Regions from separate parts of the Homo sapiens genome. Here regions 1, 2, 3, 5, 6 and 7 are each linked to region 4. The links are contacts of gene promoters, found by promoter capture Hi-C in blood cells and fetal thymus (Javierre and others, 2016). All regions are on one chromosome and are shown on one strand. Each heading gives the region's core, a stretch centred on a gene start or on the middle of the fragment in contact. The rest is flanking DNA. Distances are from core to core; before and after follow the strand shown.

Evidence for each region. The method cuts DNA at HindIII sites, captures the fragments that hold promoters and counts their contacts. A CHiCAGO score of 5 or more calls a contact.
Region 1: a contact is called between a fragment that was not itself captured here and the fragment with the promoter of GDAP2 in region 4, in 1 of 17 cell types (monocytes). The highest score is 5.4, in monocytes.
Region 2: a fragment that was not itself captured here is called in contact with the fragment with the promoter of GDAP2 in region 4 in 1 of 17 cell types (total B cells); the score reaches 5.4 in total B cells.
Region 3: a contact is called between a fragment that was not itself captured here and the fragment with the promoter of GDAP2 in region 4, in 1 of 17 cell types (neutrophils). The highest score is 10.4, in neutrophils.
Region 5: a fragment that was not itself captured here is called in contact with the fragment with the promoter of GDAP2 in region 4 in 1 of 17 cell types (M0 macrophages); the score reaches 5.7 in M0 macrophages.
Region 6: a contact is called between a fragment that was not itself captured here and the fragment with the promoter of GDAP2 in region 4, in 1 of 17 cell types (total B cells). The highest score is 5.2, in total B cells.
Region 7: a contact is called between a fragment that was not itself captured here and the fragment with the promoter of GDAP2 in region 4, in 1 of 17 cell types (total B cells). The highest score is 5.3, in total B cells.

Annotation. Positions count from the first base shown.
Region 1 is chr1:119,131,282-119,133,981 of GRCh38, forward strand. All of the region lies in intron 1 of WARS2 (tryptophanyl tRNA synthetase 2, mitochondrial), which reads right to left. Among named protein-coding and RNA genes, the nearest start is that of WARS2-AS1, 7.8 kb to the right of the region's middle. The HindIII fragment of the contact is 5,540 bases long and covers 1-2,700 here.
Region 2 is chr1:116,560,129-116,562,828 of GRCh38, forward strand. All of the region lies in intron 1 of CD58 (CD58 molecule), which reads right to left. LOC105378925 (a long non-coding RNA gene) reads left to right here. Exons shown (of 3, transcript XR_947739.2): 3 at 1-1,059. Among named protein-coding and RNA genes, the nearest start is that of MIR548AC, 1.4 kb to the left of the region's middle. RefSeq lists an enhancer at 2,390-2,539. The HindIII fragment of the contact is 813 bases long and covers 872-1,684 here.
Region 3 is chr1:116,580,197-116,582,896 of GRCh38, forward strand. All of the region lies in intron 9 of IGSF3 (immunoglobulin superfamily member 3), which reads right to left. Among named protein-coding and RNA genes, the nearest start is that of CD58, 11 kb to the left of the region's middle. The HindIII fragment of the contact is 6,350 bases long and covers 1-2,700 here.
Region 4 is chr1:117,928,352-117,931,051 of GRCh38, forward strand. It overlaps GDAP2 (ganglioside induced differentiation associated protein 2), which reads right to left and starts at 1,270. Exons shown (of 14, transcript NM_017686.4): 1 at 1,097-1,270. WDR3 (WD repeat domain 3) reads left to right here and starts at 1,388. Exons shown (of 27, transcript NM_006784.3): 1 at 1,388-1,431. RefSeq lists enhancers at 1,195-1,489, 1,371-1,540. The HindIII fragment of the contact is 4,170 bases long and covers 143-2,700 here.
Region 5 is chr1:119,639,497-119,642,196 of GRCh38, forward strand. All of the region lies in intron 1 of ZNF697 (zinc finger protein 697), which reads right to left. Among named protein-coding and RNA genes, the nearest start is that of ZNF697, 7.4 kb to the right of the region's middle. The HindIII fragment of the contact is 7,617 bases long and covers 1-2,700 here.
Region 6 is chr1:119,148,525-119,151,224 of GRCh38, forward strand. It overlaps WARS2-AS1 (WARS2 antisense RNA 1), which reads left to right. Exons shown (of 7, transcript NR_125975.1): 4 at 2,041-2,222. Among named protein-coding and RNA genes, the nearest start is that of WARS2, 9.2 kb to the left of the region's middle. The HindIII fragment of the contact is 7,646 bases long and covers 1-2,700 here.
Region 7 is chr1:116,365,971-116,368,670 of GRCh38, forward strand. No RefSeq gene overlaps it. Among named protein-coding and RNA genes, the nearest start is that of ATP1A1, 5.9 kb to the right of the region's middle. The HindIII fragment of the contact is 169 bases long and covers 1,179-1,347 here.

The sequences.
Region 1 (2,700 bases), core at 79-2,578, 1.2 Mb after region 4:
ACAGATAAGGATAGGAAGAAAGGCCTTTCCAAGAAGAGGTAATGGCATTAATAAGGAAGTAAAAGGGAGTAGCTCCGAGGAAACTTGGAAATTTTGTGAACTCTAGGGCAAAGGATCTATGTAAGATAGCAATGGTCTAGAGAGGTATTTTGGATCCGGACTGTGCAAAGTTTTTTGTTTTTTGTTTTTTTTTTTTTTGAGACGTAGTCTCACTCGTGTCACCCAGGCTGGAGTGCAGTGGCGCGATCTCGGCTCACTGCAAGCTCCGCCTCCCGGGTTCACATCATTCTCCTGCCTCAGCCTCCCGAGTAGCTGGGACTGCAGGCGCCCGCCACCACGCCCGGCTAATTTGTTTGTTTTTAGTAGAGATGAGGTTTCACCGTGTTAGCCAGGATGGTCTTGATCTCCTGACCTCGTGATCTGCCCGCCTCGGCCTCCCAAAGTGCTGGGATTACAGGCGTGAGCCACAGCGCCGGCCCGGACTGTACAAAGTTTTAAACGTTCTGTGGGAAGTCTGGACTTTATGAGAAGCCCCCACAGGCTTCTCAGCAAGGGAACAACATAATTAGAGCTCTGCTTTTGGGAGATTAACAAAGTCAGACTGATTCTAGGGGGTGTGGTGGGGGGCGGGAAGAATAGTATGGCAATGGAAAGAATCCTACTAAGAGTGATAAGAGTAAAAGAGAGAAAGGTTGTTGGATAGAATTATATATTATTGAAGAAGTCATCATCAAGCAGGGAGGACCTACCAGGTGCTGTGCAGTGGCCAAGGAACTTTATATATGGTAGGATTTCAAATCTACATAAAATTCTTACAATGTGAGGAGTATTATTAACATGTTGCACATGAGACAACTGAGGTTTAGTGAAGTCAAAAAACTGCCTGGAATCACATTTAAAATGTGGTGGTAGAGCCAGGCCTGGCTGATCCAAATAGTCATGCATGGTCTACTTTCCCCCACTTCCTCTTAATGAAGAGCCAGTCAACTTATTGAGTCTGGATGTCTCATAGCTTAGTGGCATGGGAGTAGCTGGAAGGTTGCCAGCCATGGGAAAAGCCAAAGTTTGCCAGGTAGCTAGTAGCCAGTCGGTGGGCCAATCTGACTCTCTCCCCAGGACTGGCAAGAGTTCCACACAGTCTGGTCCTTTACATCTCCCTTGGGACTCCAACTTCGCACTGCACACTTACCCTCAGCCCAAGAAGCCTCTTCTCTTTTCCAGCAAATTTATGAACTGGCTGCTCAGACCATTCTCCCCATGGGAGGACAGGAATCCAAATCTGCGATTTGAGTAAACAGCTCCATTTCCCTTCACTATTATATTCTCCTGCTTCCCAAAAGGGGTCCAAAGTAACGTGGTGAATAAAGAGTAGGCTTTATTCATATAATAAAGTTGAACACTCCATGCAAAGTCTCTGTTCATGAGGAGTGTGACAAAAAGTTCATGAGAAGCCCTTTGTTTGATGTATAAAATGAATTCTGTTCAATATTGCTAATTTTAAAGCCTCATCACCATTCTAATTAATATACTAATATACTCACCTTAATACTCTATAATTAATGAATTATAGACCTCTTTAAGAACTCCTTCAAAGGACAATCTTTCAGAATCAAATTCTTCCTTGTCCCTTGCAGAAATGGCCCACAACACTATTTTCTTACTTCCCACCTTCTGACTGTACTTCTGCCACTTCTTGAAGAAAGCACTCTAGCCATAAATCCCAACTAGACCCTAGATAGTGGTCCCTTGGTCAGCCATCAACTTTAGCTCTCACCACCTCTCCTCTACCTGCAGGGCTCTGTGCAGGTTGCCCTTTTAGCTATAGACTGTGTATAAACAGAACTTCCTACATGCACCTTGGGACTCATGTGTTAAAAGCCCTTATTTTATACAAGGTAATCCTAGTGGTAGTAGCCAAATAGAGACATGGAGATAAATTTACAAGACAGCTTTGCTTCTTCCTCATAATTCATTGAGCGAAACAAGACTGTAAGAATAGCAACAACAAAGGATGATTTATAATTTCTACTCTACATGTCACCATGGCAAGATATATAAGTGACTTTCATAGAACAGATTTAAAAGTTACAAGGCAGTTATCAGCAAATTAACATGTGTACTTTGCTTCAGAATTTATCATCATTGTAGTTAGTGCACAGGGTTTGGAATCAGGCTAGCTGGGTTTACATTTTGGTTCTGACACTTGCTAGCTATGTAACCTTAGGTTAGTTATTTAACCTCCCAACATCGTCATCTATAAAATAGGGCTAATAGCACCTACCTTATTGAGTTATGAGGATTAAATGAGTTAATGAATGTCAAATACTTAAAACCATGCTTGGCACATAGTAAGCATCCAATGAATGTTTGCTATTATCACCACCACCTCCATTATCATCATGTTTAGTAATAACTGAAATTATCATGGTACTATCAGACCAGGGCCCAAAAATGAATTAAACATTAAACTAATTTTAGTACAAATAGGATAACAGTCACTGAAGTAAAACTTGAAAGAACACTGATATTTACTTTATATTCATCATCTTGCAAAACTGGTTAAAAAAAATGGGAAGGCACAATAAAAGTTTAATCAACGAGTAAAAATTTTTGATGGCTAAATAGAGGAACTTTGTATATTGTATTCAAGAGTAAATGAGAATGTGAAGCATTCTGAAAAACTACAAAATGCTGTATTAA
Region 2 (2,700 bases), core at 28-2,527, 1.4 Mb before region 4:
TTATGGATATATTAGGTTAACTAAAATATATTATTAAAATTAATTTCACATGTTCCATATTATACTTCTATTTGAGAGCACTTCTTTAGCCTGTTGTTTCAAGACACTCACATCCCACCTTTCTCAAAGGCCACATTTGTCTTTGACTGTTCTCACCTTAGATAGGATACAGCTGAGATCCACAGTATGCTTTAGGGAATAAGGTTCTTACTAGATCGGTTAAGGCTGTGAGTGTTTTTAAATCTATTCTCCAAAGTCTGATTCAAGGTATTTCAATACAGTACTGATCATTTCACTAAAATTCCTTGAGAATCCTTGTTATTTTCTAGATACTCAGTTCATCGTTGGGAAACTCTATTGCAAGTAGTTTACAATGGCACAGCCTCATTAGTTTCTTATTAATCTGATTTTTTATTTTTTTCTGAATGTGTATGTTAAACTTCAATTTTCTTCTAATTTTTAACTGGCATAGGAAGAAAATGTTCAAGAAACTACAGACTGGTCAGCCCAGTGGAAATTCAGGCACTAATCTCAACAGACATTTTGGGGAACATTGTAAAGTAAGCAAAGTTCACTAGAACCTATAAAGTAACCAAAAAGCATTTTCCTTGGAGGCTGATGGGCAGGCACTGAAAGTTATCTCCAAAGAGGAACTGCTAAAATGTTTTCCCCTCCTTTTCTAGGGACAGTCTCTGTATCTTATAGTCACACTTTATATTCAAACCTGAACTTATCTGAGAAAAGAGAAACGGCTGCATCCTGGTTTCACTTACAACCCTGAGATGGAAGTTGAGATTTGTCATTGCAGAATTTAAGGGTCTGTGTCCTTAAGTAAAACCTTCTGGTCACCCCTCAAGTAAAGCTTCAAAAAAGCTTAGGCACTTGTGCAGAAACAGCATGAGAAGAAACCAAAAGGCAGAAAACTTACACATATAAGGGCTGATTTATGCAAAGTTTCTACTTTTAAACAGAGAAACCAATACCTACCCTCAAAGCCTGTATTTACTAAAGAAATGTTAGAGTGACAAGGAGGTCAATAAAATAAATTATTCAAATCTGGTTCTTAAAAAGAGGTTCTAAGACTATTTTAAAACTTCTGAAAGATGCCCATCAAAATTAAAACAAAAAAACATAGCAACGAATACAATGAGTGAAACTTGATTAGATCCGGGTTTTTTAACAAAAGACACTCTTGTGACAAGTGGGGAAATCTGAATACGGGTAAAAGTTAGGTGATGTTACAGGATTAGTGTTAATATTTATAGATGTTATGATGTTATTGAGATTATGCAAAAGTGTCTAGGAGTGAAATGTGGGTACCTAGAGAATGTAAATATAATAATGTTAATAATAAATATGTCAATAAATTGCCATTGTAAATTCTATGTCCCAAAGAAGCACCCCTCACCATTACAAATTATGATATTAAATACAATTTTGCATGACTGGTAATTGTGCTGACCTATATTTCCCATGTTTTAGCAGAATTTCATTGGACAATGTATACATGTTGGATATAAGAAATCAGTAGTACTCATCTTCAAAAAGTTGCTTAGTGGATCTCAGGCTAGGGATACAACAGAGCATATAAAGGAATAGGTTCTGATTCAGAGAGAATCAAAGTTCAAGTTCACTCTGCCACTTATTTGCTGTGTGAACTTGGACACATTACTGAACCTACCTAAGCTTTGTTCTCCTATTAAATGTTCCCTATGTAATAAAATCAGTGTGACAATTAAATAAAAACATCTCAAATCTGAAGCATAGCTCCTGGCACAGAGCAGGTACTTACCTCCTAGTGGCTATTATTACTTACACTCTGTTATAACACTGGGCCTAGTTTTCCTATAGGAACACACAACACTATTTTAACTTGGATTATCTTTGCTAAATAAAAAAACACAGACTGTCTAAGTCTCAACTCCAGCAAAGCACATGAACAAGTCTCACATAATAATGTGAGATAATTTCAAATGGAGAAATGCTGGACAAATACATTGTCATCTAATGTTCAGATTCAACAATCTTTACTATTAAAAAAAAACAGATCAATATAAGGAAAATTTTAAAAAATAATACATGACTTCTGCATACAAGGAACTTAAAATCTAGTTATGCAGATAGTTGGCAATAAAGGATCTGTAAAATGTCAACAACAGCAGAATAAGACAGACTCTGTTAATAATAAAATAGTTCCTACCTTTTTATTTTTTATTTTTTTGCTCTGTTACCCAGGCTGGAATGCAGTTGTGTCATCATGGCTCACTGCAGCCTCAAATTCCCAGACTCAAGCAATTGCCAGGCTCATCTCAGCCTCCTGAGTAGCTGGGACTACAGGCGTGCACCACCACACCTGGCTAACTTTTTGTAGAGATGGGGTGTATTAGTCCATTCTCGCACTGCTAATAATGACATACATGAGACTGGGTAATTTATCAAGGAAAGAGGCTCAATGGACTCACAGTTCCACATGGCCAGGGAAACCTCACAATCATGGCAGAAGGCAAAGGAGAAGCAAAGTCATGTCTTAATGGTGGCAGGCAAGAGAGAGCGTGTGCAGGGGAACTCCCCTTTATGAAACCATCAGATCTTGTGAGACTTATTCACTATCACAAGAACAGTATAGAGGAAACTGCCCTCATGATTCAATTATCTCCACCTGGCCCTGCCCTTGACACACGGGGATTATTACAATTCAAG
Region 3 (2,700 bases), core at 1-2,500, 1.3 Mb before region 4:
GGGGGGAAGAGGTGTTTATTTTCACTGTAACCCCTTGTAGTGGCTGAATAGTGTCCCTCCAAAATGCATGTCCACCTGGAACCTCAGAATGTGATTATTTGGAAATAGCAACTTTGCAGACGTAATTAGCAAAGAGGAGGTCTTGCTGGATTGGGGTGGGCCCTAAATCCAGTGGCTGGTGCTATGAACTGAATTGGTCCCCCTCCAAATTAATATGCTGAATTCATAACCCACGATGTGACTACATTTGGAGGTAGGACTTTTAGGAGGTAATTAAAGTTAAATGAGGTCATAAGGCTGAGTGAGACCCTAATCCAGTAAGATTGGTGTCTTATAAGAAGAAGAAGAGAGATCTCTCTCCAGGTGCATGCACCGAGGAAAGACTATTCAAGGACACAGCAAGAAGGCGCCGTCTGCGGGCCAGAAGAGCTCTTACCAGAACTTAGCCATGCTGGTGCCCTGACCTCAGACTTCCAGCCTCTAGGACTGTAGGAAAATACATTTATGTTGTTTAAGCCACCCAGTCTATAGTATTTTGTTATGGCAACTGAGCAGACTAAGATAACTAGTGTCCTTATGAGCACAGGAGAGAAGACAGAGAGAAAGTGGCCATATGATGATGGAGGCCCAAACAGGAGTGAAGCAGCCACAACCAGGGAATGTCTGTGGCCACAAGGAACTGGCAAAGGCCAGGAAGCATTCTTCCCTAGAGCCTTCATGGGGAGCATGGCTATGATGACATCCTGACTTTGGACTTCTGGCCTGCAGAACTGTAAGAGAATAAATTTCTTTTGTTTTAAACAATCAAGTTTATACTAATTTGTTATGGTAGCCCTGGGAATTTAAAACACCCATGCAGTAACTTAAATTTAAACTGTGTGCATGTAGCTTATTGCCTAAAACACAGAGAACCCAAGGAGATCAGTATCTCTCCAAGGATTAAAGCCAGATAACAGACGACAAGGCTGAAAGGGCCCTTCCCTGTGAGCACAGATGTCTCAGGAGGATGTACGCAAAGTGTCCTCCCTGCTTAGGCGGGAGACACAGAGTAACCACAGAGAGGGACCCCAAGCAGGTGAGTCACATCTCACAGATGCCAACAGACTTGAATCTGTTTTGCTGTCTTTTTTTTTTTTTTTTTTTTTTTTTGGCTCACTGTAATATGTTCTAAACAAATAATTCACTCCCTAACTCCTAAAAGGCCTCCCTTTGGCTCTGCTTATGAAATGTTCATGAAAGGTGCCAATGTAATGTAAACTGAAGTAGAGATACCAAATCAGATCCTACTTGGATGAAGACCAAATAGGAGCACTTTCCAAGTATTGTCCTGGGCTTTCAATGAATTGGCTTAGTGTCGCTCACAGGTGAACATGTCGCTCACAGGTTAACACAAGGCTGGGCTTCCCATTGCTCTTGTGGGGGCTCTGCCAAGCCCCTCTGCACCCACCTCCTGCACCCATCTGGAATCTCAGTGTGCACTGCTGGCACAGGAGGGCTCAGTAACCAGCTACAGGTGGCAGGCCCAGCTCTCTCAGGGACAAGAACATGCTTGAGAACAGAATATGGCCGGGTGGGGACTATTCAATCAGTTCACAGGTAACTCAAACTCACTCAACTCCTCAGTTGTAACTCCAAGGCCATTAGAGAGCCCTACTAGAGACCAAGGGGAGCCCCCCACCCCATGCTTTTCTCCTCCAGAGTCTAACATAGTATCCCCACGCTCCTGGTGACTGGCTAAGGTGTCAAGGGAGGTGGCCCTGGGCGATGTGCAGTGGAACTTATCATGGCCAGGGGCAAGATGGCCAGAGACCATCAGTTGAGCTCCTCAGAAACACCTCCTCCCTCTTCAATCTCCCTTTGCTTTCTTGTCTTCTAACCGCTTAACATTTTTCTTGGCCCCTTCAAATGCCTTGTCTGCATAAATGACTCAATACAAGTTTTTCGACAGAAATTAATTTCCACCTTCCCACAATCTCTCTCCCCTTAACATGTTTCTCTACCAATTTAGTTCCCTGAATCTGCCCCCTTCTAGAATATGCCAACCCTCCTCCCTGTTTGGACTTAAATACTCTCTTCTTTTCCAAGTATAAGCCATGGAAAGATGCCGACCTCTGCCCCTGCTGTCTGCGTGACACTAACAGCTCCCCTGGATCTCACTGTGACCGCCAATTCCTGGCCTGTGTGTGATGATTGTGGTTTTCTCCCTTCCCCAGTTGTGTGAGCCCAACACAACTACTAATCGACTCATCTGCAATCTTAGTGAGGATGGGAGCCCTTCATTCCATGTATTTCAGATTATTGTGAATGTCAACTCTCAGCAGTGGAAGGTGATTATTTTCCTAACAATACTTTTAGAGCTATATTATTTCAAGTCTTCCATGTGTTTAACGTATCCCTCCGAAAAAAATCTTTGAAGTACGTCTGCACAATGAATGTTATGAAACCAGTAAAAATGGTGGCTATGAAATGCTTTCACAGACATGGGAAAACGCTCATAAAAGAAAGTTGAGTGGGAAAAAAGATCACATAAAACAGTAAGATCCTGAGTTTGTTTACAGACAGAGGAAATATGAAGACATGAGGCAAAGACCAAAAAATATACACCAAATTATTAATAGTAGATATTTGTAGGCCGTGAGATTATGGCTAACCTTTCTTTTCAAAATTATACTTTTCTGTTTTCCAATGTTTTGTAATTAG
Region 4 (2,700 bases), core at 20-2,519:
TTATTCCAAGGGGTGTTAAGATAGAATCTAAACTATGTAGTTTTCCATTGAAGCACACACTTCTCCCCATAATAATATAATGCACAGCACCTGTCAGGGATATTAACCATACATACCCACTCAAATGCTCCCTTTCCCACCAAGCTTATTAAAATAATAGTTTGTGGCCACAATTTCTTCCCTTCTCATTTATCCAATACACAGCAATCTTGTTTCAAAACTCCTATGCTGCTACAGCTGTCCACAGTCTCATCATACGCATTCTTTGCTATTGCAATTTTCTTGAATATGGAAGATTAGCTGAACATGCATTAAGCTCAGGAAACTCTAAAGAAAATCAGATAATGTAGACAAAAGTCTAATTTCTAGGCTGGCTGCAGATACCTTGTTCAAGAAGCGCCGGCAGGATCTTCTTTTGTACAGCTATGTTAGCTTTAATTTTGCACAGCTCTAGACATCAGAACTCATTTCTAAACACTTCTATGCAGCTCAAGAATAAAAGTAGCAGAAATGCAAGAGAGAAAAGCTAATTCCCACTTGGTGAAAGAGCACTTAAGTCTCAGTGAGCAAACAAGGAGGAGTCAGCCTTGGTCACTTCCCCCTCAAGCGGCCAGAGAGCGGAAACACAAAGCCAGGCCAGTGTCACTCCAGGGATTGCGGGAACCTAGACAACGCACCATCCTGGGCTCAGCGTCTACCCACCCCTCACCCGAGGTGCTCTCGGTTCCGTAGAATGTCCAGTCCACAGGAACGGCAACACGGACTTGTCTTTGGGACTACAACCAGCAAGAGCTCCCGCCTGCCCCATTTCACCTGCACCCTAGGGCGCCCGCCTCCTTGGCTACAGCACCACTGTTCCTAGTGCCCGCCGACTGCCCACCCTTTCACTTCTCGTAGAGACGGCGTCCCCGACAACGCCTCGGGAAAGAACCTAACCAACATGCGAGGAAGTGGCGCCAGGCTCGTTCTTCAAGAGAAGTGACAGAACTAACCCTCAGCCTGCAATCCTGACCAGGGCCGAGTCCCGAGCGCCTCGGACCGCGCCCCCGGCCCTCTCCGCCCCGCCTTCCCTCCCGGCCTCAGTCCCTCCTCTCACAGCACTCTGGTGGTCCCATCCGGGCGGCGGGCGGCACGGATCAGGCTCCTGGTAGAAGGCGGCCGAGCGACATCTCCGGCGACCCTCAGCAGGAGCGCGCCGAGTACGGCGAGTCAAAGTCCCAGGAGACTGGAGTGACCAGCTGCAAATGCTCTGGGCTGCGAAACACCGGCTTCCGCTCCTGGCCAGAGCTCACCAATCAGCGCCCGGCTTTCTCCGTCATTTCCTCCTAGAAGGCAAAGGGAACCTCTGGCGGAAGAGGCTTCCGGAACGGACCCGGAAGGGGCAGGTCTTGTGGGCGGGTCCAATCGGCTGGGAGCCTCGTGGAGGCTGAGGTGAGTCCTGGAGGTGCGTGGTTGGGGCGGAGAGCATTATCTGCGGCTCCGATTTTGCAGATTCTGGCTGAGGCGTTCGTGATGTCAGCAGCAGCCGAGACGGGCGTGTTAAAGGCCGGTTGCTAGGGCTGGGGGAACTCAGGTAACTACGGGCGTCCCCACAGCAGTACTTGGAAGCCCCTCAGCTACTCGGCGCGGTTGCGGGTGCTGAGCAGAGCTGCCTGACCGTGCGTGTGCACGGGCTGGCCTGAGGATGATATGACCGTGTGTTCGGTGTGTGGAACCCTCCGTCACCCTCCCCTGACCGAAGACTCGTTTAGGAATGTGTGGCAGGTCTGTTGCCACGGTCCAGGCCTTCAGTGCATCTTGGAAACATCGTTTTGGGGGCTGTAGGTTAGGAAGCGGAGATCATGGGGTCTCGGAAGAAGGTTTGGTCGTGAACTGTCAGAAAGGAGGCGAAAGCTGTGCACGTGGAACAAAGTGAACAGTGCAAGTTGTATGGGAGGTAGTTTAAATATCGAGGCGATGAAAAAAGGCTGCTAGAATTGGGCTTACTCGAAAGGAAGTGGGCCTCAGAAGATAATATTAGTTAAAAGAAGTAGAGGAGAACATGGATGTTATTCTAAGTAAAACGAATAATATGAAGAATACAAGGTCGCGGGACGAGGAAGGAAACTAGCCAGCCTGACAGGAAGGTTTATTCGAGAAATACGGGGGTTAGATAGGATGAGTTTTTGGAAACTGGCAAACGATTTAGCCTTTTCAAGGCTTTAGGATAGGGAAAGCTCATTTGAAAAGATTAGTCGGTAGTATTATGACGTTTAAATGAAAAGAGTGAAAAACATGGAGGCGGAGGTGCTAGGTGGAAAATCAGTGCAGTAATCCAGTGATAAAGAGCTGGAACTGAAAGTGCTGGAGAGAAAGGGATCCTGTTTCAGAGTAACAGTCAGGTGGAATTGACTAAAGAGAAAGAGGCAAAGAGAAGCAGTTTAGCATAGTGGTTAAAAGCAGAAATTTTGGAGTTAGACTGGCTGGATTGGGATCTGGCTTTGGCAATTAGCTGCTAAATGACTTTGAGTTAGCAATTTGCCATCTCTGGGTCTGAGTTCCTTGTCTGTAAAATAGAGATAGGAAGAGTGACTTCCCTTGTGGTGTTATTGTGGAGAATTTGTTTATTTATTTTTAGAGACAGAGTCTCACTGTCACCCAGGCTGGAGTGCAGTGGCGTGATCATAGCTCACTGCAACCTCGAACTTCTGGACTCAAGTG
Region 5 (2,700 bases), core at 28-2,527, 1.7 Mb after region 4:
GTTTTCCCTTCCTGAGATGCTTTTCGTCCTCAAAGCATGGGTTACAGTCTGTCCTTTTCCGGAGGCAGCAGCACCTGTAATGGTTAAAAGCTCAGATTCTGGCCAGGCATAGTGGCTCACGCCTGTAATCCCAGCACTTTTGGGGGCCAAAGCCAGTGGATCGCTTAAGCTCGGGAGTGCAAGATCAGCCTGGGCAGCAGGGCAAAACCCTGTCTCTCCAAAAAAAAAAAAAAAAGCCAGAAGTGGTGGCATACACATGTAATCCCAGCCACTTGGAGGGCTGAGGTGGGAGGATTGCTTGTGCCCAGAAGGTATTCACACCACTGGACTTCAGCCTGGGTGACAGAGCAAGATCCTGTCTCAAAAAAACCAAAAACCAAACAAGATTCTGGAGCCATACGACCTGTGTGAATCCAGTCTAGCTGTTAGCCTTAAGCAAATTGTTCAACCTCTTTTGGCCTTAGTTTTCTTCATCTATAAAATGGAGAGAACAACTGAACCTACCTTATAGGGATAGTAAGTGCTCAGATAGAATTATTATTATTTTTTCACTTTGTATGACTTAAGATACTTTTTCTTATTCTGCCTAATATTAGTTTTTTAAATAGAATCATACTTACAATAATTCATATCTTATTTTTGGCTCTCCTTTTTCTCCTACCACCTCCCAACTGTAAGTTCCTTATGGGAACAAACATTTTATTCACTTTGATAATTCCCTCACACAATGGACCTTCAAATAGTTCTTGAAATGGATAAAATCAGGAGTAATTATTTCTTCCCCTCGGTCTCAAAAGGAAGACCTAAAAAGACTAGGAAATCTAGTGATTTGGCAAAATCACATCAGGTAAGGTAGAGTCATAGAGACAACCTAACTCTCCCAACTGGATCCAATAACCTGTTAGCACCAGGAGCCAAACATGCTTAATTACCCTGCTAAATAGGTAGCCATGACAGGAAATGGCAATTAGCCTCAAAAGTTAGGCAGACCATTCTCAAAAAAGAATTCTACATCTCTTGGCCCAAATGCCAGCATGCTTTGTTTGTATCAAATGCCCCTGTGTGGGTCCTCCCTCCACTCCAAGGGTTTAACCCTTGATTCAGCTGTGCAAACAGAGGTGGCACAGTGCTGTTTATGTTCATTGTGGGGAATGCTACCAGACTGTCCCACTATGACAGGACAACTACTTCTCTCCCACCCAAGGAAAATTGGGACTAGCAGTCACAGAAATTAAATGACGAATGAAGAAAGACCAACATTTAATCTTCAAAGTAATTATGAGACTAAAGAAGTTGCTGGGTAAGGCAGGGCAGGGAGTGCATTCAAATACCGGGGAGATTTGCATTTAACATTAAGAGTGGCTATTCAGACTAAAGTTTTATTCTCTGGCAGTTTTCAAGAGTTTCATGTTTTGTTTTGTTTTTCTTACTACAACAAGAAAGGCATGGATTTCTTGATTTCTCTTCTCACCTACATAGAATCATCAGCCTAGAAAACCCTTTCCCTAAAGGTCCAGAATTAGGCTGGGAAACAAATGAAGGCTCTTAAGAAAGTTAGTAAAGATTACATGCCATACAGGAAGTGTTGACCAGGAATACTTACCACACCACCTATTCAATCAATAAACACAAGCACATATTAGGAAGTAGAGAAACAGAAACAAAAGATGTCCTGTGGCAACTGCCCCCCAGACTAGTGTAGGCTGTGGCTGCAGTCTGGTTAAATTCAACTGATGCTTATTGTTATAAGGGGGGTGGTAAAAGGGGAGTGTGTCTTCCAGTTAATTTCACATTTTGGTTTCTCAGTTCTGGAGTAAACTAGTTTTATATTAAATTAAATCTGGCACACATCCCCCCCTAAAAAAGGAAAAGATGGGGAAAGCTCATATACTAAAAAAAATAACAAGAAAAAGAGTCACAGGTGGGGAGAAAATGTTTGCAAAAAAATATATATGATAAAAGGCTGTTAACCAAGATATAGAAAGAACTCTTAAAACCCAATTAAAAATGGGCAAAAGATCTGAACAGACACCTCACCAAAGAAAATATGCAGATGGCAAATAGGCACATGAAAAGATTTTTAACACTGATACGGTTTGGCTGCGTCCCCACCCAAATCTCATCTTGAATTGTAGTTCCCGTAATCCCCTCGTGTCATGGAAGGGACCAGATGGGAGGTAATTGAATCATGGGGGCAGTTACCCTCAGGCTGTTCTCATGATAGTGAGAGTTCTCAGAAGATCTGATGGTTTTATAAGGAGCTTTTCCCCCTTTGCTCGGCACTTCTCTCTTCTGCTGCCATGTGAAGAAGGACATGTTTGCTTCACCTTCTGCCATGATTGTAAGTTTCCCAAGGCCTCCCCAGCCATGCAGAACTGTGAGTCAATTAAACCTCTTTTCCTTATAAATTACCTGTTTTGGGTATTTCTTCATAGCAGCATGAGAATGAACTAATACAAACATCAATGTCATTTGAGAATTTCAAGTTAAAACAAGATGCCACTACTCGCTCATTAGAATGGCCAAAATCCAAAACACGACAACATCAAATTAGCTATCAAGGCGTGAAAAAACATGGAGAAACCTTAAAACGTATACTACTAAATGATAGAAGCCAATATGAAAAGGTCACATACTGTATGATTCCAACCATATGACAATCTGTAAAAGGCAAACTATGGAGACAGTAAAAAGATCAGT
Region 6 (2,700 bases), core at 51-2,550, 1.2 Mb after region 4:
GTCCACACAACCACTGACAGTGAAAACAGGGACATACTTCTTGGGGCCTTTCTCCTGGTCTGCATGCACAACCCCACCACAGGAGTAAGAGGCGGGGGTACACTTACCACTTACGTTGTCACGGCTAGTTATCACCTCAGTAAAAACAAGACTACCATGCCTAGTGCACAGAAGGTCACAGGACACAGGGCTGTGGTTTCTCCTCAAAGAGTGACATTCGTTTAGAACTTAGTTCATCCCTCTTATCCCAGACTGCTTGAGAATTAAGGAGGGAAGGAAAAGAAGAGGGTCTCTAGCTCTGATCTTTACTGTGTTGGGAAGATCCCCACTCTAATCCTGTTGCCACTCCTTTTTTTTTTTAAGACAATAATAAGGTCTCCTTTTCTAGAACACTCAGCTCATAAGTTTTTAGACCTGTCCTTGGTGGCCGGACGCGGTGGCTCACGCCTGTAATCCCAACACTTTGGGAGGCCAAGGCAGGCGGATCACGAGGTCAGGAGATCGAGACCATCCTGGCTAACATGGTGAAACCCTGACTCTATTAAAAATAACAAAAATTAGCCGGGCATGGTGGCAGGCACCTGTAGTCCCAGCTACTCGGGAGGCTGAGGCAGGAGAATGGTGTGAACCCAGGAGGTGGAGGTTGCAGTGAGCCGAGATCGTGCCACTGCACTCCAGCCTGGGAGACAGATCGAGACTCCGTCTCAAAAAAAAAAGTTTTTAGACCTGTCCAACTGACATTTAACACCATGAGATGGTGAACTTGGGGAAGACATGAGACTAGTAACACACACACACAGATTTTCAAGAGCTTGACATTCCATTATTTACTCACCTAGCAAATACTTATTGGGTGTCTTTTGTGCCAGGCACTGTACTAAATGCACAGAGCTGAATAGGATACCATCTGTGCTCGTCAAGATCTCCGTTTAATGAAGGAGAAGGCAAACAACAAACAGAATTTCAAGACATAAGATGTTGGCTGTGGGTTTGTCAAAAAAAAAAAAAAAGAAGAAGAAAATTCAAGAGAAACATCTTTGTATCAGGAAGCCCTTGTGATTTCCTTAGAATCACACTTTGTCAGCAATCCTAGCCTCACTGCTTGCTGTTCGTATAACCTTGGACAGGCTTCCTAAGAGTTCTGGACCTCAGTGTCCTCATCTGAAAATGGGGGCAAAGAATAAGCTCCCAAAGTTTCCTTACTGCTCTAAGATGAGTACTGAGCTCAATCTTGAAGGAGTGTCTGTATAGAATTTTGAATTGGAAAGAGGAGCAGGGTGCCCTTAGGAGAGAGAACTGCATGAAGAAAGCAAGGATATGCAAATGAATAGAGCATAAAGAAAGGTGAGAGTAAAGAGAATAAGGTACCGACACATCTCCCTGCTTCCTCCTTCACCCGCTTACGTGTATTTTCAATCAGCCATCAGAGTGACCTATTAAAATGTATGTCAGCTCATGGTCACTACTCTGCCCAAAACCCTCCAGTGACTTTCCATGTCATTTGGAAAAAATCCAAAGTTCTCAAAACCTATAAGACCTAAGTGACCTGCATCCCCCATCCCAACCTCTCTTTCTGGCCCTTTCCCCATTAACTTCCCCCTGCTTTGCTTTACTCCAGACATGCTGGTCTCCTCACCAATGCTCACCAGTTACCACCTAAAACATTTTACTTTATTTTCTCCGCCTCTAGAACATAAGCAGCATGGGAGCATAGCCTTTTGTCTGCTTTATTATGCATCCTCAAAGTTCAGAATGTGCATGTCTAGTAACATATTTGTTAAATGCATTTTCTTATTTACAAGTAAGGAAACTAAGATCAAAGAGAATGCAAATGAAGTCACACTGCTCTTTAGGAGAGGGTGGACCAGTATGTGCACAGATTTTCTGTTTCTCTGCCCCAAAGGTAGATAGAATGATGGGCCCTGAAGATGGCTATATGGCAGAAGGAACTTTGCAGATGTGATTAAGAATCTTGAGATGAGAATATTATCCTGGTTTATTCTGTTTAGTCCAATGTAATCATAGAGGTTTTTCTAACAGGGGAGCAGGAGAGTCAGTCTAAGAAGGAAATGTGATGATGGAAACAGAGGTTGGAAGATGGAAGAGGACCCAGAGTCAAGGAATGCAGGTAGAAAAGAAAAGCCTGGATTCTCCCCTAAAGCCTCCAGATGGAACACAGCCCTGCCTCCACCTTGATTTCAGGACTTCTTACCCCAAGAATCGTAAGCTAATACATTTGTTTTTGTTTTTGTTTTTGTTTTCTTTGAGATGGAGTCTTGCTCTGCTGCCCAGGCTGGAGTGCAGTGGACTGATCTTGGCTCACTGCAGCGTCCATCTTCCGGGTTCAAGCGATTCTCCTGCTTCAGCCTCTCAAGTAGCTGGGATTACAGGCGCCCACCACACCCGGCTAATTTTTTTTTTTTTTAATACTTTAAGTTTTAGGTTACATGTGCACAACGTGCAGGTTTGTTACATATGTATACATGTGCCATGTTGGTGTGCTGCACCCATTAACTCGTCATTTAGCATTAGGTATCTCTCCTAATGCTATCCCTCCCCCCTCCCCCCACCCCACAACCGTCCCCAGTGTGTGATGTTCCCCTTCCTGTGTCCATGTGTTCTCATTGTTCAATTCCCACCTATGAGTGAGAACATGCGGTGATTGGTTTTTTCTCCTTGCAATAGTTTGCTGAGAATGAT
Region 7 (2,700 bases), core at 13-2,512, 1.6 Mb before region 4:
CTGAAGGTGAAAATCAATCAGCTGGGCTACGGCTCTGACGTTTTAGTGGACTTATTTTCCTGGTCCTCGCCTGAAGTTTGGTAATAACCAGACCAGTTCAGACAGGTGGAGTGCTGACTGACCTCTACCACCCAACTGGGTGCACTTGGCTGGCTGTGTCTCAGTAGACTGGTTCTTTGTTGGATAAAGGAGATTGACGTGGGAAAAGGTGAGCCAGCATAAAGTAAATTCTGTTCTCATTCTCTCCTCCTGTAGACAAATTTTGTAGCTGCCTTCATTCTTCCTTGGACCTTATATCTCCCAGGCTAAGTAGGAATTTGGAATCAAGACGAGATAATTGCTTACCCTCTTTGAACAGTTACTACATGGCAGGCAATGTTCTAGTGCTTTAAGTATATCATGTCAATTGTTTCTCATAGCAGCCCACTGGTAGAGTTACTAAGTTAGATAGTTTTTCTAGATAAAAAGCTTCATGCTTACATACATTGTTTGAAGAAGGTATTTGGTTAGAATCCTGTCATGTGATCAGCTATTTTGGGTCCACCACCTCCATCACCACCATCCCATTACCTCCTACCATCACTTTCATTACCACCACCACCATCTCTGTCTCCACTGTTAACTCTTAACACTGTGTCCATGACCAGACGTCAAATGTTAACAGGGACTTGTCAAAAAAGCAAAAAGCTGAGATGTGTTAGGCAGGGACATCTTTAACTTGAGCTATTTGGACAACTTTTTTTTTTTTTTTTTTTTTTTTTTTTTTGAGGTAGGTCCCACTATATCACTCAGGCTGGTCTTGAATCATTGGTCTCAAGTGACCCTCTCACCTCAGTATTTGGACAATTGAAGCTAAATTTTTCATTAACTTGGTTTCTTCCTTCTTTTCTTTATCTTCTATAATTTCGGTCTTCAAATGTGAGATTGCTTACCAGGCAGCTTAACATTTCTTTAGTCAGTGGAGTTGCATCAAGCACTGGACTCTGAGAGAACTGGAAACCAACAAAGTCCTTGGCCTATTTGGAATTCACCTTAGCAAAAAACACTAGGAAATCAGATAAAATGCCTGAGCCATCCCCGCAAATTGAACTATCTTCTGAGGGCTAGGGAGTTGTATGTTGACCAATTGTTAAAATTATGTCCTAATTCCAGTTTTTCATCATATCCAGCAATTCAAAAGCTTCTGTTCAAGAGAAGTAGTAGATAATAGGGATGGTAATGGGAGTTAAGGCATGCTGCCTGTGTGTGCACAAGAAAAGGAAGAAAATAAAATTAGCATACTATGACAAAAATATACAAGGAGATATAGGTATCTTGAGATTCTGAATTCAATAATGTGATCAGAGAAGCTTTCATAAATGTGCTGGCTATGAAGGCATATCTACTGGAGAAATCTTTCCAAAGCACAAATCTGATCATGCCCTGCCCCTGCTTAGAACCCCACAGTGTCTCCCTATGGCCCATAGGATAAAGTCCAAGCCCTTTGATGGCATCCAAGTCCTCCACAATCTGGACTCTGCTCACCTCTCCAAGCTTACTTCCTGCCGCCATTCCTCTCACAACCTAGGCTCTCGCCATTTTAATCTTCTGGCCAGTCCTCCAACACTCAGTTTGTTTCTGTCCTGAAGACCTTACCCATGTGCTACTTTTGCTTGCATCCTCCTGGTCCTGCCTAACATGCTGCCATTCCGTGAACTCCTAACCATCTTTCACAATCCCAGCCAGGGAAGCCTTTCCCACTCTGCAGACAGAGCTGGCCACTTCCTCCTTCATGCCCCCATGAAGGCCTGCATATATGCAGCACCTCTCACTGTGTTACTAATATCTCTTTGCATGTCTTTTTTTTATGCCAGATGGTGAGCTATTTGAGGGTAGAGAATGTGTCTTAGTTATCTTTATACAACAGCAACAAGCACTGTGCTAGGCTCAGAGTAGATATTCAATAATGTTTATTCTGATTTTTTGCATGAACTAGTTCTTACTTCTGTTAAATACTATACACTACCAGAGTTAAGGATTGGAGTATGCTCTTTATAAGAGGGGGAAAAAAGGGGGAACCCTTCTTAGGGGCTTATTTGTAAGAGTCCACATGTAGAGGTCACCATCGCCAAAATGGAAGCCTCCAGAGTAAAACATAAGCTGTTAAAAATGAATTGAGCTGGTTACTATTTTTGCACCTGACCTACTTTTTGGTTACTTCTGCTGTTGCAAAAACTTCCATTCTTATAAATGAACCAAACCACTTTTTGATGGTTTTGTATTCTCTCCTCTTAAGGTAGCTTTTTACTGAAACAAAAATCTGCACAGTCTCTGAAACCCAGCTTTAATGCAAAGGCATCTATGGAAGAGTATTATTCCCAGTAGGACCAACTTCCAAAGAACTCTCTCAATTGTTTTTCCATGGAAGAGTTTAAGGCCAAGAATAGCAAATCTATCCACCACGATGATGGCACTTATTTCCTTAGTGCTTGTGGTTGTGCCCCCTGGAGAGCAGGAAGGGTTAGATGCCAGTTACCTCCCGCCACCTCTTCCCAGCTTTGGGCTTGCCCTTTCTGAGCTGTAAGGCTGCCTGAAGCTGTGTCTCTGCTGGTTGGATGAAGATGGGACTCTGGCAGTGGAATATTTTTCAGTCCAGATCCCTTCTTTGTTACCATTTGATTTTCTTTTTTTTTTTTTTTTTTTTTTGTTGCAATGCCTCGG